Linked DNA regions of Homo sapiens: region 1 is linked to region 2. The links are contacts of gene promoters, found by promoter capture Hi-C in human tissues and cell types (Jung and others, 2019). All regions are on one chromosome and are shown on one strand. Each heading gives the region's core, a stretch centred on a gene start or on the middle of the fragment in contact. The rest is flanking DNA. Distances are from core to core; before and after follow the strand shown.

Evidence for each region. The method cuts DNA at HindIII sites, captures the fragments that hold promoters and counts their contacts. A contact is called where the count stands out against the background at its distance.
Region 1: a fragment that was not itself captured here is called in contact with the fragment with the promoter of FAM78A in region 2 in 2 of the 25 tissues and cell types used here (bladder and lymphoblastoid cells).

Annotation. Positions count from the first base shown.
Region 1 is chr9:130,695,848-130,702,199 of GRCh38, reverse strand. It overlaps EXOSC2 (exosome component 2), which reads right to left. Exons shown (of 9, transcript NM_014285.7): 3 at 4,573-4,618; 4 at 3,949-4,038; 5 at 2,806-2,871; 6 at 1,265-1,333; 7 at 1-66. Among named protein-coding and RNA genes, the nearest start is that of EXOSC2, 5.2 kb to the right of the region's middle. RefSeq lists an enhancer at 2,868-2,977. The HindIII fragment of the contact is 4,089 bases long and covers 2,078-6,166 here.
Region 2 is chr9:131,273,152-131,278,835 of GRCh38, reverse strand. FAM78A (family with sequence similarity 78 member A) reads left to right here and starts at 2,326. Exons shown (of 2, transcript NM_033387.4): 1 at 2,326-2,979. The coding sequence starts at 2,657. RefSeq lists enhancers at 517-616, 2,797-3,296, 3,457-3,506, 3,537-3,586, 2,999-3,611 and 4 more and a silencer at 977-2,156. The HindIII fragment of the contact is 9,704 bases long and covers 1-4,299 here.

The DNA.
Region 1 (6,352 bases), core at 2,873-5,372, 580 kb after region 2:
ATGAAAGTGGGTCTTCTGCCGTTTCACCAGGGAGGGGGAAACCTGGACCAAAACCCCCTGACCTAGCTAAAGAAATATATCACGAAGCTAGGTCACTGCAAGATTGGCGGGATGAATGAAAAGGAGACTACAGAATATACATCCTAAGTATATTCAAATTGGTGTCCTTCCTGTTTATAATTGCTGTCGCCTACATGCATACACATAGTACACATTTTTGCAGAGAACGCTTTGGGACTCAGAGGCTATTCATACATCCCAGCAGAAGGTGACCTTCAATACTCTTCTCTGTCATTTCCCTTTGCAGTCTTCCTTGCACTCTAAGCCAGAACTCATGTGCCAGACATTAGAGAAGCTGAAGCCAATGAGGAAGTGAGCTGGAGCCTCCTGCTGGCCCAGGAGCACTGCGTTGTTCCATGACCCTAGCTCATACCTGAACCCCAAACACTCATCTTGCCTGTGAGATGTGTGCCTCTGGGTAGGTAAGGAGATGGGTGGAGCTGGGTGCAAATCCATGTCTGGTCCTGGCAGGACAGCTCAAGTCCACGTCCTGCCAAGGAAGAGTCCGCAGGACCCAGGGTTGTGAAAGTCAGCATACTGCAGCAGTCCTCTGCCTACTCCATGTACATCAACGTGGCTGTCTGCAGCCACTCCATTAAGGGAAGAGGTTTTTGTTCCACTCAGAAAATAAAAACGTTCACCCAGATAAAGCTAAGAGACTAGTAAATCCTAATTTGTTTTAGGAAGTATGCTCTCCTTAAAATAGTAAATAGCTTCAATAATGCAACCTCGTACAAGAAAAGCAGTGAAATTCCATTTAGAGGCTCAGATGACAGAGCAAGCTTTGCCAGCAATAACATCCACTGGACTGATTGGACGTTTGTCTAAGGGCTGTTTAACCAGACCCAGCCTGCCTTTGTTCCCAGGACAGCCTCAGCCCCAGTGCTGAGCTGCAGCGCCCCCTGGAGGAAGAGAGACAGCTGCACCTCCCAGCCCACAGTTGGAGGGGCTCTTCTGGTGAAAGTCAGTCTCCTTGGAGAAAAAGGATAAAACTTGTTCTTTACAAGGCTACTGACCCATGACCCTGTGAACCCTGACCGTCCTGATGTTACGTTTAAGGAACACGATCAGTTTGTGGGATGCCAGCCTCTATTAATGCTTAGCTACTGGGGTTCTTTAGGCCAGAATTCCAGAGAGCTATGGGGATTCAAAAATAGCCTTGTAGTCTCAGTCAGCAAACAGGAACATCAAGAGCCCGACTTACTTTTCCATATTTCAGGCTCCTCGTGTGCAAAGAGACAGCTCCGTCAGAGAACACTGCCTGGACCTCAGCCTGGCCAGGGTGATGAAGGAACAAACAGCAGCCTTGGCCACACACTGTCCTGTCCTCTGCAGCCTCTCCCCTTGACCCCACACCTCCATCTTTTCCTCCCCTCTCCAATGGTCCAGGCTCAACAATCTTTGACCCAGAGCACATCACTGTGACCTTACCTCTCCCCTTGGTTGTCATGAATATCTTTTTTTTAAAAATACAGACAGAAGGCCAGGTGCGGTGGCTCACACCTGTAATCCCAGCACTTTGGGAGGCTGAGGCAGGTCGATCACCTGAGGTCAGGAGTTCTAGACCAGCCTGACCAACATGGAGAAACCCCGTCTCTACTAAAAGTACAAAATTAGTCGGGCATAGTGGCGCATGCCTGTAATCCCAGCTACTCAGGAGGCTGAGGCAGGAGAATCGCTTGAACCCGGGAGGCAGAGGTTGCAGTGAGCCGAGATCCCACCATTGCACTCCAGCCTGGGCAACAAGAGTGAAACTCCGTCTCAAAAAAATAAATAAATAAATAAATAAATAAATAAATAAATAAATAAAATAAAGACAGAGGCCAGGCATGGTGGCTCATGCCCGTAATCCCAGCACTTTGGGAGGCCGAGGTGGGCAGATCACCTGAGGTCAGGAGTTTGAGACCAGCCTGGCCAATATGGTGAAACCTGTCTCTACTAAAAATACAAAAATTAGCCAGGCATGACGCACGCCGGTAATCCTAGCTATTTGGGAGGCTAAGGCAGAATTGCTTGAATCCAAGAGGCGGACGTTGCAGTGAGCCGAGATCGCGCCACTGCACTCCAGTCTGGGCAACAGAGCAAGACTCCGTCATTAAAAAAAAAGAAAAATTTAAAAAATAACATAAAATAGAGACAGAGTCTTGTTCTGTCACCCAAGCTGGAATGCAGTGGTGTGATCATAGCTTACTGTAGCCTTGAGCTCCTGGGCTCAAGCAACCCTCTGGCCCCAGCCTCCTGAGTAGCTAGGACTACAGGCATGTGCCACCACGCCCGGCTAATTCTTTTTTAATTTTTTTGTAGAGAGGGGGGTCTTGCTATGTTGCCCAGGCTGGTCTTGAACTCTTAGGCTCAAGCAGTCCTCCCTCCTTGGCCTTCCAAAGCGCTGGGATTACAGGCATGAGTCACCACACTCGGCCTGTCATTAATATCTTGACGTGAACAACACCTTCTCCACTCCCTGCGCTAAAAGTTAACACCATTAACAAAAGCCTAGTCTAAAGCACAGGCCACCGTAAGTTACAAGACCCAAAGAAATGACTTAGCAGCAGGTCCCAACAAGAGCTGGGGAGTCAGCCTGAATTAAGGAGACTGAGAAAGGATGCAGCAGAGCCCGACACTTGGTCTAAGACTCGGATCCCTGCAAGGATGACATGGTTCTTCCGTCAGAGACATACAATGGAAGGCCCATTTCCCAGTCCCACAGAAAAGCATCAAGAGGCTGGAGTGCAAAGCGCAGGATACACTGATAAGGTCCCCTTCCTGTAAGAAACCTCTCATTGCAAGCTCATCTTCTGCAGATCTTCTCCTCTGAAATACACAAAGAAATGACATTACTTAAGCCAGATCCTCAGAAAGGTCTCCATCACTTCTCTTTCACTTCCTTTTGAGATGTTTGAGGCCAACCACAATATTCAAGCACTGAGAACTATAGCAAGAGTAGGTAACCCAAGCCACTTGAGGGGAATCAGTGATAATCACGACTTTCCATCTCAAAAGACTTTTCCACAGCTCCTCTTCCTCTTTCCCTCCCTTCTCTGAGGAACATTCAGACCCCTCCCAATCTCACCTAGCCAACATTTCCATAGTCATCTTCCATGACAGCCCTCTGTGGTCCAGCAGGACCAGACTAACTCCTGCTTGGATATATCTCTGCTCATACATTTCCCTTTATCTCAGATTCCCTGAACTAGTCATTCAAAGTCTCTCCATCCTTCCAGGATCAACTCCAATGCCTGTCTTTCCTACAAGCTTCTCTCACTGAAATTTCCTTTTGTATAACCACAGCTTATTTATTCTTCTACTGCCAGGGACTAGGTCAGTTATCTTATATCCCCTGCTGGGGAACTCAATCGTGCTTGGCACTCGGCACAGAGCTTGGCACAGTAAGCCTCTCTGTAAATACACGCTGGACTGAAGATCAAGGTGAACCATGGCATTTTACAAAAGGCTGTGGCTTAGTTACTGTGGTTGTCTGGAATGCCAGCAACCACATTCCACACATGGTTGAATGAAATGCCTTTCAATTCACAAAAACCTAATGTAAAGACAACTTTTCAAGGAACATCTTCACTATGCAAGGCTGTTATATCCAAAAAGGAAAACTGTTAACAACCAGCATCTAAGGGCTTCTCTCCCCAACTCTCTGTTGGGATCCCACCCCATGGATGTTTCTGATCCTACCATATGCCAACTGCTCCCTCTTTCGGGAGACCTGGACAGGGTGAAAAGTCTACATACACATCTAGGCAGCAAACTTCACAGCAGACAAACAGGAGTCAAAGGGGCAACCTCAGTGTAAATCAAAGTCCTCTGGTGGAACAAAGGGTCCCACGGCTCCCCCCAGCCCACTGGGCCCTAGTCCATGGCCCCAGCTGTAGCCCTTACCAGCTCTCCTCCAGGAAGGTTCATGGACGAGAGCAGCAAGACCGAATCCAGCCTGGAGTTGGTCTCCACCTTCCACCTCTTCTGTTGAACCTATAAGCCAAGTTCCACACCTGGACACATGCTCCATGTTCATGTGTCATATCATAAATAACCAGTAAGGCCAGATGTGGTGGCTCACGCCTGTAATCCCAGCACTTTGGGAGGCCGAAGCTGGTGGATCACTTGAGGTCAGGAGTTTGAGACCAGCCTGACCAATATAATGAAACCCCATCTCTACTAAAAATACAAAAATTAGCTGGGCGTGGTGGCGGGTGCCTGTAATCCCAGCTACTTGGGAGGCTGAGGCAGGAGAATCGCTTGAACCTGGGAGGTGGAGGTTGCAGTGAGCCAAGATCATGCCACTGCACTCCAGCCTGGGCGACAGAGCGAGACTCCATCTCAAAAAAAAAAAAACATGAACCAGTAATCTGAAATCGAACAAGCCACATATTTACATCAGAAGCCACACAACGGCCAAATGCAATGAATGCCTTTTTCATGTAACTACAAGTGGAATGACTGTCCCATGAATGAAATCGCCAGCCTGCCTCGACTTTGTAAACACCAATCTGATATCGACGTTACCTCTGTGATTCGTCCCACTACGATGTCTCCTACTTCACCAATGTATCTGAAAGACAAAACACAAGGGGTTCATCCATCTGTGAGCAGACTTTCTGACAAGACCACACACCATTTGAGATGTCGGTTCAACAGGGTGAAAGCCTGGAACAGGCGCCACATTCAGCAAATTCATGTAACTATATTGTCTGGACTTACTTTCAGAAACTGCTAACTTCAAACATTCCTCCACGTATAAAGTCTCCATTAACTATCCTTAGACATATCACCATTCCAAGTAGTTCATTTAGCCCAAAAACCCTATTTTGTTCGATTACACGACAATGAAAAACACGGACTATTTTCCTGTGGCACATGGATGAGTTCTGCACCAGCCAAAGGAAGAGAAAGGAAATCTGAGCCAGGACTCCAACCACACAAGTCTGCTCACGTCTCCTCCACTTACTCACTGCCTGCTCCTCTCAAGCCCCTTTGCTAGTTCCTTACCCGCGATTCTAATGAGACGTACTCAGTGCTGAGGCTAAGTCCTTAGACCTCTTCACTTTTCGGCCACTCAATCTAATACCTTTAAAACACCACTCTGTGCTGTGACTGTGCCACTCTCCTGAATTCCAAATCCTACTCAACTGCTAGCTACCCAACTCTGCCATCTAGATGACTAACAGGCATTTTCAAATGTATCAAGCACAAAACTAAGCTTTCCCGCAGCCCCCTCCAGTCCTCCATAGCAAACCGAGATAGGGGATGAGTTGTCCCCATCTCAGTCAACGGTGACTCCATCCCCTCAGTTGCTCAGGCCAAAAACCTCGGAGAGTTCCTTGATTCCTCTCTCTCTCTCACGCTCCAGGACAAGTCCAGTAGCAAAACCTGTTGGCTCTACCCTTAAAACATATGCAGGAAATAAAAGGCATCCAAATTGGAAAGGAAGAAGTAAACTTATTTCTATTCACAGTTGACGGGGTCCTATGCACAGTAAAGCCCAAAGAATACAAAACCCAACAGCTTTTCATGATTTTAAAAAAACACTCGGAAAATAAAATCTGTGTAGATTCCAATCACTCCTCCACCTTCCACTGCTCCCACCTTAGTTGAAGCCACCATCACTTCAGATCATGAGTATGGTCCCTAATCCACCTCCCTAAGCTTGCCCTATCCCCCTTCAATCTCCCATCAGCAGCCAGAGTGAGCTTAAGTCCAGATCAAGTCCCTCCTCTGCTCCACCCCTTCCAGTGCTTCCCAGATTACACAAAGTAGAAGCCAAAATGCTTACTCTGGCTACAAGGCAGGCCCACGCCCGCCCACCTCAGCTCTCTGCTTACATCTGCCCCTTCTCTCCCCCTCACTCACTCTGTTCCAACCCCACTGGCTTGCTTTCTGGGGCTAACCTTCATTGAATGCTTCTAGGTATCAGGCTCTGTGCTAAATACTTTACAGGCACCATCTCACTGAATTCTAAAGAAAATCCTAGGCCAGGCACAGTGGCTCACGCCTGTAATCCCAGCACTTTGGGAGGCCAAGTGGGGGGAAATCATCAGAGGTCAGCAGTTCGAGACCAGCCTGGCCAACATGGTGAAACCCTGTCTCTACTAAAAATCGAAAAAAATTAGCCAGGCGTGGTGGAGGGCGCCTGTAATCCCAGCTACTCGGGAGGCTGAAGAAGGAGAATTGTTTGAACCCGGGAGGCGAAGGTTGTAGTGAGCCGAGATCACGCCACTGCACTCCAGCCTCGGCAACAGAGTAAGACTCCATCTCGGAAAAAAAAAAAAAAAAAAAAAGAGAAAAT
Region 2 (5,684 bases), core at 1,077-3,576:
GTCATGGGGATGGGGTGGGGACGAAGAGCGTGGCTTTAATGTAGCTGCCAGATGTACTTATGTCACAAATTGCTTGGGCTTTCCCTACGGCTGGCTGGAAGGTAGGGGTGGGGTTCATAGCTCTCCCATGGCTGTACAGCCTCATGCTCCTTTTGAGCCCCTGCACTGGGACCCCTGCGGGGGGACGGGGGGAAGGACCTTGGGCAAATCCCCTAGCCTCTCAGCTCTGGGTGCCTGCTCTGTGAAGTGCACATCATCAGTCTCCCTCCACAGGGAGGCCGATGGTGGCTGAAATGATGCTCTGTACAGCGCTCATCACACAGCCGGGGTCCAACAGGCAGCCAGCAGACCTGCTCGAGGGGACCCACCTCTCCCCAAACTGCTCTCCCCTCCCCGCGACCTTCCCAGCCTTGGAGCCTACAAAGCCCCCGCGCTGTCTCCACCAAGCCACTGTCTCCCTGCGGTCAGGAACCCCAGGGCAAGGGAGCCCTTCTGCGGGTGCTCCGAACCCCAGAAAGCCTCTGGTCCATAGAGTTCAAAGGGCACTGGGAGCAGCCCACCTGGCCCCGAGACAGCAGCGGAACTACACTACCCAGAATTCCCGGGGCTGGCCAAAAAGGAAATGTCGTTTGTTCAAGGAGAGGCTCAGCTCCCCGAGCAGCTGCAGAGACAGGGAGCGAGGGGGAGCGAGGGATTACCAGGGGGAGGGCGGGCTGTGTGCGGGGAGCGAGGGTGGAGAGCCAGGCGGGCGGGGAGGAGGAGGCGGCGCCCGCCCGCCGCCGCCGCCGCCGCCTGCGGACCTGCATCCCCGCGGGGCCGGCGAGCGGGCGGCGGTCCCTGCGTGCGCCGGCTGCGCTCGGCCGGCGGCGGCGGCGAGCGGACGCGGGGGCCGGGCCGGCGCAGGGGCCGAGTTTCTGCAAAGTTTGACCCGGTTGCCTTTCCGATGCTGCAGCAGAGCGAGGCAGCGCGGGGCGCGCCAGGCGGCAGCGGCGCGGCGGCGGGGCTGAGCGGCGACAGCGCGCTCACAATGATCATAAAATAAAGGAGGCGCGCGGGGTGGGGGCGAGAGAGCCCCGAGCCTCAGCCCTCCGCCCCCGGCCGCCCCCCCGAAGCCCCAAGCCGGGAGGAGGGTGGGGGCCGGGGGCGCCCACGCCGGCCCCAGACTCCAGTAGAGCCAAGGGACAGTGCCCGGGGAAGGGGGTGGGGGCGCCCCAAGAACGTGCCCGCGGCCGGGTCAGGGGCGTCCGGAGAGCGGCTGCCCGGGCCAGCGGAGTGGCCCCCGGGGCAGGTGAGTCGGCGGCGCCGCCCGAGTGGGGGCGTGCGCGCCAAAGTTCCCCGGCAGCGGCGAGCGCGCCCGACGCGTGGGGACCCGGGGCTGCTCGCGGCTGGAGAGGGGCGACAGAGGCGCTTGACGCGGCGGAGCGGGGGCACTATGCCCTCCGAGGGCCGAGGGACCCCAGCCGGGAAAGGGGTGCCCGCCGGATCCGACGGCACTGGTGGGTGGCCCTGCGCCCAGGGAGCCGGAGGGACCGGGGTGGGGAAGGGGCACCTGGCGCTGGCGGCGCGGCGGTGGGGACAGAGCAGGGCAAGTGCTCGCCGCCCCCTGCAGCGGCAGCCGCTCGCCCCCCACCCCGCCCGTCCGGGACGGTATCAGCGGAGATGTCACGGGCGGCTATTATTCGCTGGTGCGCGCGGTCGTGCGGCCGCCACTGACGGGGCGGGCGCGGGGGGCGGGGGCCACCGCCTCCGGGGAGACCGCCCAGAGCTGCGCCGTCAGCTCCGCAGCCCGCGCCCAGCGCACACGCGTCGCCGCCCCCGCGCGCCCCCCGCAGCAAAGTTCGGCTTAACTTTGAGGCTGGCCTTGACGCGCTGTCCCTTCCACCTCCCACCAGGTCCTCGGCGGCCGCGGCGAAGCAGGCGGCGGCGGCCGGAGCGCAGCCCCGGGACCCTGCACGGCGGCCGGCAGCGACAGCGGCGAAGGGACGCGGCGCCCCTGCGTGGGGACGTCCGGCCCGCGCCCGCGAGTGGGCGCCGACGGGGACCCGCGCCGCGCTCCCCCGTCACCGGCGAGCGGCCGGAGCCCTGAGCTCGCCTCCTGGAAGCCGCGGGTCGGCGCTCGCCCCGAGGGCGCCGGGACCTCGGCCGGGTGAACACAAACTGCTCTGCAATTGATTCGACCGCGCCGGGCGGGTGCGGGTGCGGGGCCCGGAGGGAGCGCGTGCGGAAGGCCGGAGGGCAGGAAGTCAGGCTTCTGCCGCGAGGGTGGCGCGGCCGCGCGGGGACAGAGCCTTCCTTATTTATGAGTCTGCCGGCGCTCGCCTGCTTCCTCCGAAGACTTCAGGGAGAGTCTGCGAGCTGCCGTCCCCGCGTGTGAGGCACAGAAGGGCTGGATGTCAGAACCGCATAATTATTCATTAAACTACAAACTTTTTTTAACCCAAAGAATATCGGTGATTTTTGTCCACTGCGAGGAGAAGAAGAGAGAGCCCAGGGCTCATGAAATGCAGCAGAATCCTTATTTATAAACAGGCCGCGGTAGTGATATATGCAACCCCAGTCTACTCAGTGAGTTTTCTATCCTATGGATATCGGTCTTGAGAGTTGAGATTGGAGAGCAGCGCCGTCTGTACTGGGTCCTGCAGCCTCTGTCCTTTCAATGCCTGGTTTTTTCTGTGACTGCTGGCCTTCCCTGGAGATCAGAGCGCTCCTGTATGCCATGGGCTGTATTCAGAGCATCGGAGGCAAAGCCAGAGTCTTCCGGGAAGGGATCACGGTGATTGATGTGAAAGCCTCCATCGACCCCGTCCCCACTAGCATCGATGAGTCCTCCAGCGTGGTGCTCCGCTACCGGACACCCCACTTCCGGGCCTCGGCCCAGGTGGTCATGCCGCCCATCCCCAAGAAGGAGACTTGGGTAGTTGGCTGGATCCAGGCGTGCAGCCACATGGAGTTCTACAACCAGTACGGCGAGCAGGGCATGTGAGTACGGCCGAGAGCCAGCTCTGGGAACTGCTAGGGATGGCCGAGCTTGGAGGCCTGGTGGGGGGCCGCGGATAGGGGGAAGGTGGAGATACCATGAAGACAGGACGGAGGCCAGAGGGAAGCTTTAGGCAGGTATGCAGGTGGCCTCATTGGCCCGGTGGCTCCCTGAAAAGTTTGCCTGTGGATCCAGATTGGAGTCACGGTCCTGCAATCTACCCTGCCACTGTTCCCCCCGGGTTCCTGTGTCCTTCCCTGCAAGATGCCGAGAAAGCAGAGAGACATTACTCCCAGTGTTTCCTGGCAGAGCAAGTGTGCCGTCCGCCTGAGGAGTGTCTGTGCCATCAGGGGTCACCAGAGAGGCTGCAGGGCTGCCCTCCAGGCCTCTGGCCCTGTGCGGGCCCATGGCAGACATTCAGGCACTCTGCAACTCCCAGACCGGTGTGTTCAGGGCTTTGCGATTGGGCCTCAATTATCTTTCTGGCTTTTACCAGTGTATGCCAGGAGCTGGGGGAGTGCTTCCCCGTTCCAAACGGCACTGTGTTTGAGAGCACAGTTAGTTTTAGAAGCCCGATTTCTTCACAGTGTATCGCTTTCTGTCTCCAAGGCAGAAGACCGCTTTATGCAGACAAGTCCAGTGTCCCTCTGGCGAGGCCCTAACAGGAACAGCAAAGAGGAGCCTCTCCTCTGCAGCCCCAAAGCCCGGTCTCCAGAGTGTGCCTAGGGTATTGGGGGTCCCGGTGAGGACCCTGGGACCCTGGGGCTCCTTTCCTGGCCTGCTTCCTGACCCCAGAGAAGGCCGTCCCCAGGGTGAAAAGAGCTGCATTTAGGCAGAGTTGGGAGAGTGACTTAATCTGAAGGTTCACCCTAAGACAGGGATGGTGAAAATAGCTGTTTCTGAGCGTAAGGACCCTTTGGAGAGAGCTAGGCAGGCCCCGGCGGGCAGCCCACCCATGCGGCCCCGTGACTGGCCGCTGACACTCCCAGAACCTCTCTCAGTGTCTACCCTGTGGCCCCGTGACTGGCCGCTGACACTCCCAGAGCCTCTCTCAGTGTCTACCCTGTGCAGCTTCACGTCCCCGTTTTGCAAGTGGGGAAAAGAGGAGAATTTCCCCAGGAGCTGGAACTTATCACAGATTTAAGAATCTCATGGGCCACCTGTAAATGAGAGGGGTGGAGGATGGCGGGACACCAAGTCTGGTGGCTTCTCTACTTAATGACTCCAAAGTTCTAAAGGAAACATGAGGATCACAGTAACCCTTAAGTCCAGCGTGTGACAGTGACTGTCCCAAAGAGGTACATGGGGGGCACATCTAGAGGCTCTCACCGGCCCTCTCCACCAGCCTGATTTCTGTGCCAACCCCTTTGTGTCTCAAGAGCAGCTAGTAATCCAGTTCGGGGGAGGGGGTGCTGCCTTTCTGTTCTAAGCAGGGAAACATGATTCTTAGTTATGCAGTGAGGACCTTTTCTAAGAACGCTTAAGCCCAGAAACCTCCTCGGGCTTTGAAGGCATCGGGACAGTTGTAGAAACAAAAGTTTTCCTCGGGGTTTTGGGCTAAGCCTAGTTTCTTCCCTGGAAGGGGTAAGGAAGCCAGTGGGTTCTTCTGAACTTGGAAAGACATGAGCACTCACGGGACTGGATGCTAATGTGGTTGGTGCAACGTGTGGTGGGGAGGCCACAGGCCTGACCCAAGGTACAGACTCCAAGCCTCAGCTTCCCCATCTGTGCACATGGGCTTCCGATGTCTTGTCTAAGACTTGTTCTCCATCTGGTGACCCTGAGTAGGTGTGGGTGATGTGGCTGGAGCTAGGCCTGAGACTGGGACCTGAGACAACCCTGCCCTCCCTGTCGCAGTCCTGGCTTCCTGGTTGGAAGAGCCTCATGCCTTCTTAGGCAGATCTGGGCGGGAGGCCAGGTTCTGCCACTCTCCAGGATGTGGCCCTAGGCAAGTCCCTTTACTGCTCTGACCCTCAGTTTACACATCTGCAAACTGGGGCTGGCAAGAACCCCTTCCCCATGGCTTATTGTGAGAATCACTCAAGCTAACCAAATTCGCCATGCAGTCAGCCCTGCGCCAAGCTGGTGGTGAATACTTACCGCAGGCAGTAATGGGATGGGGATCATCCTTAGCGGTGTTGTGATTGTTACTGTTATTCTATCAGATGTGAGTGGCTAAAACTACAGAATTAGGACAGATGTCAGCCACACCGTGTAGTGAATTTTCTCCCCAGGCCGAGTCTTTCTCTGTCACGTAGGGCCCACTTCCTGAGTTTAAAACTTTTTAAAGCAGTGTAAGGCATGAAGAACTTGCGTTTTAAAGTGGCTCCAGGCCATTTTCCTTGTTCTCTCTCTGCCCCTGATGTTTCTCTTTGCTCCCTCTCGCTCTCGGGACTCCTCTTTTGCTGCAGGGAGCCTCTGTGTCCCACCCAGCTCATTCTCCCTGGGTGCACTGGCTGTGCAATCCCGGTTGGGATACACGGGGACCAGCCCCAGGGACAGGATGGAGTCAGAAGCTTCCTGGGAGGGGCGGCTTGGAGCAGTCGGGCAGAAGGGTCCACGTGTCTTGGCTCCTAGGCCTTGGCCAGGCAGCCCCCGGGGTTCCGTTTGGTGTCCGTCCATGAGGGGGAGAACTTCCCGTAGGCTGCTGTGAGGATTCAGCGAGAGGCCAGTATGGGTGACCGTCCTGTGGCTGAGACGTAGAGGA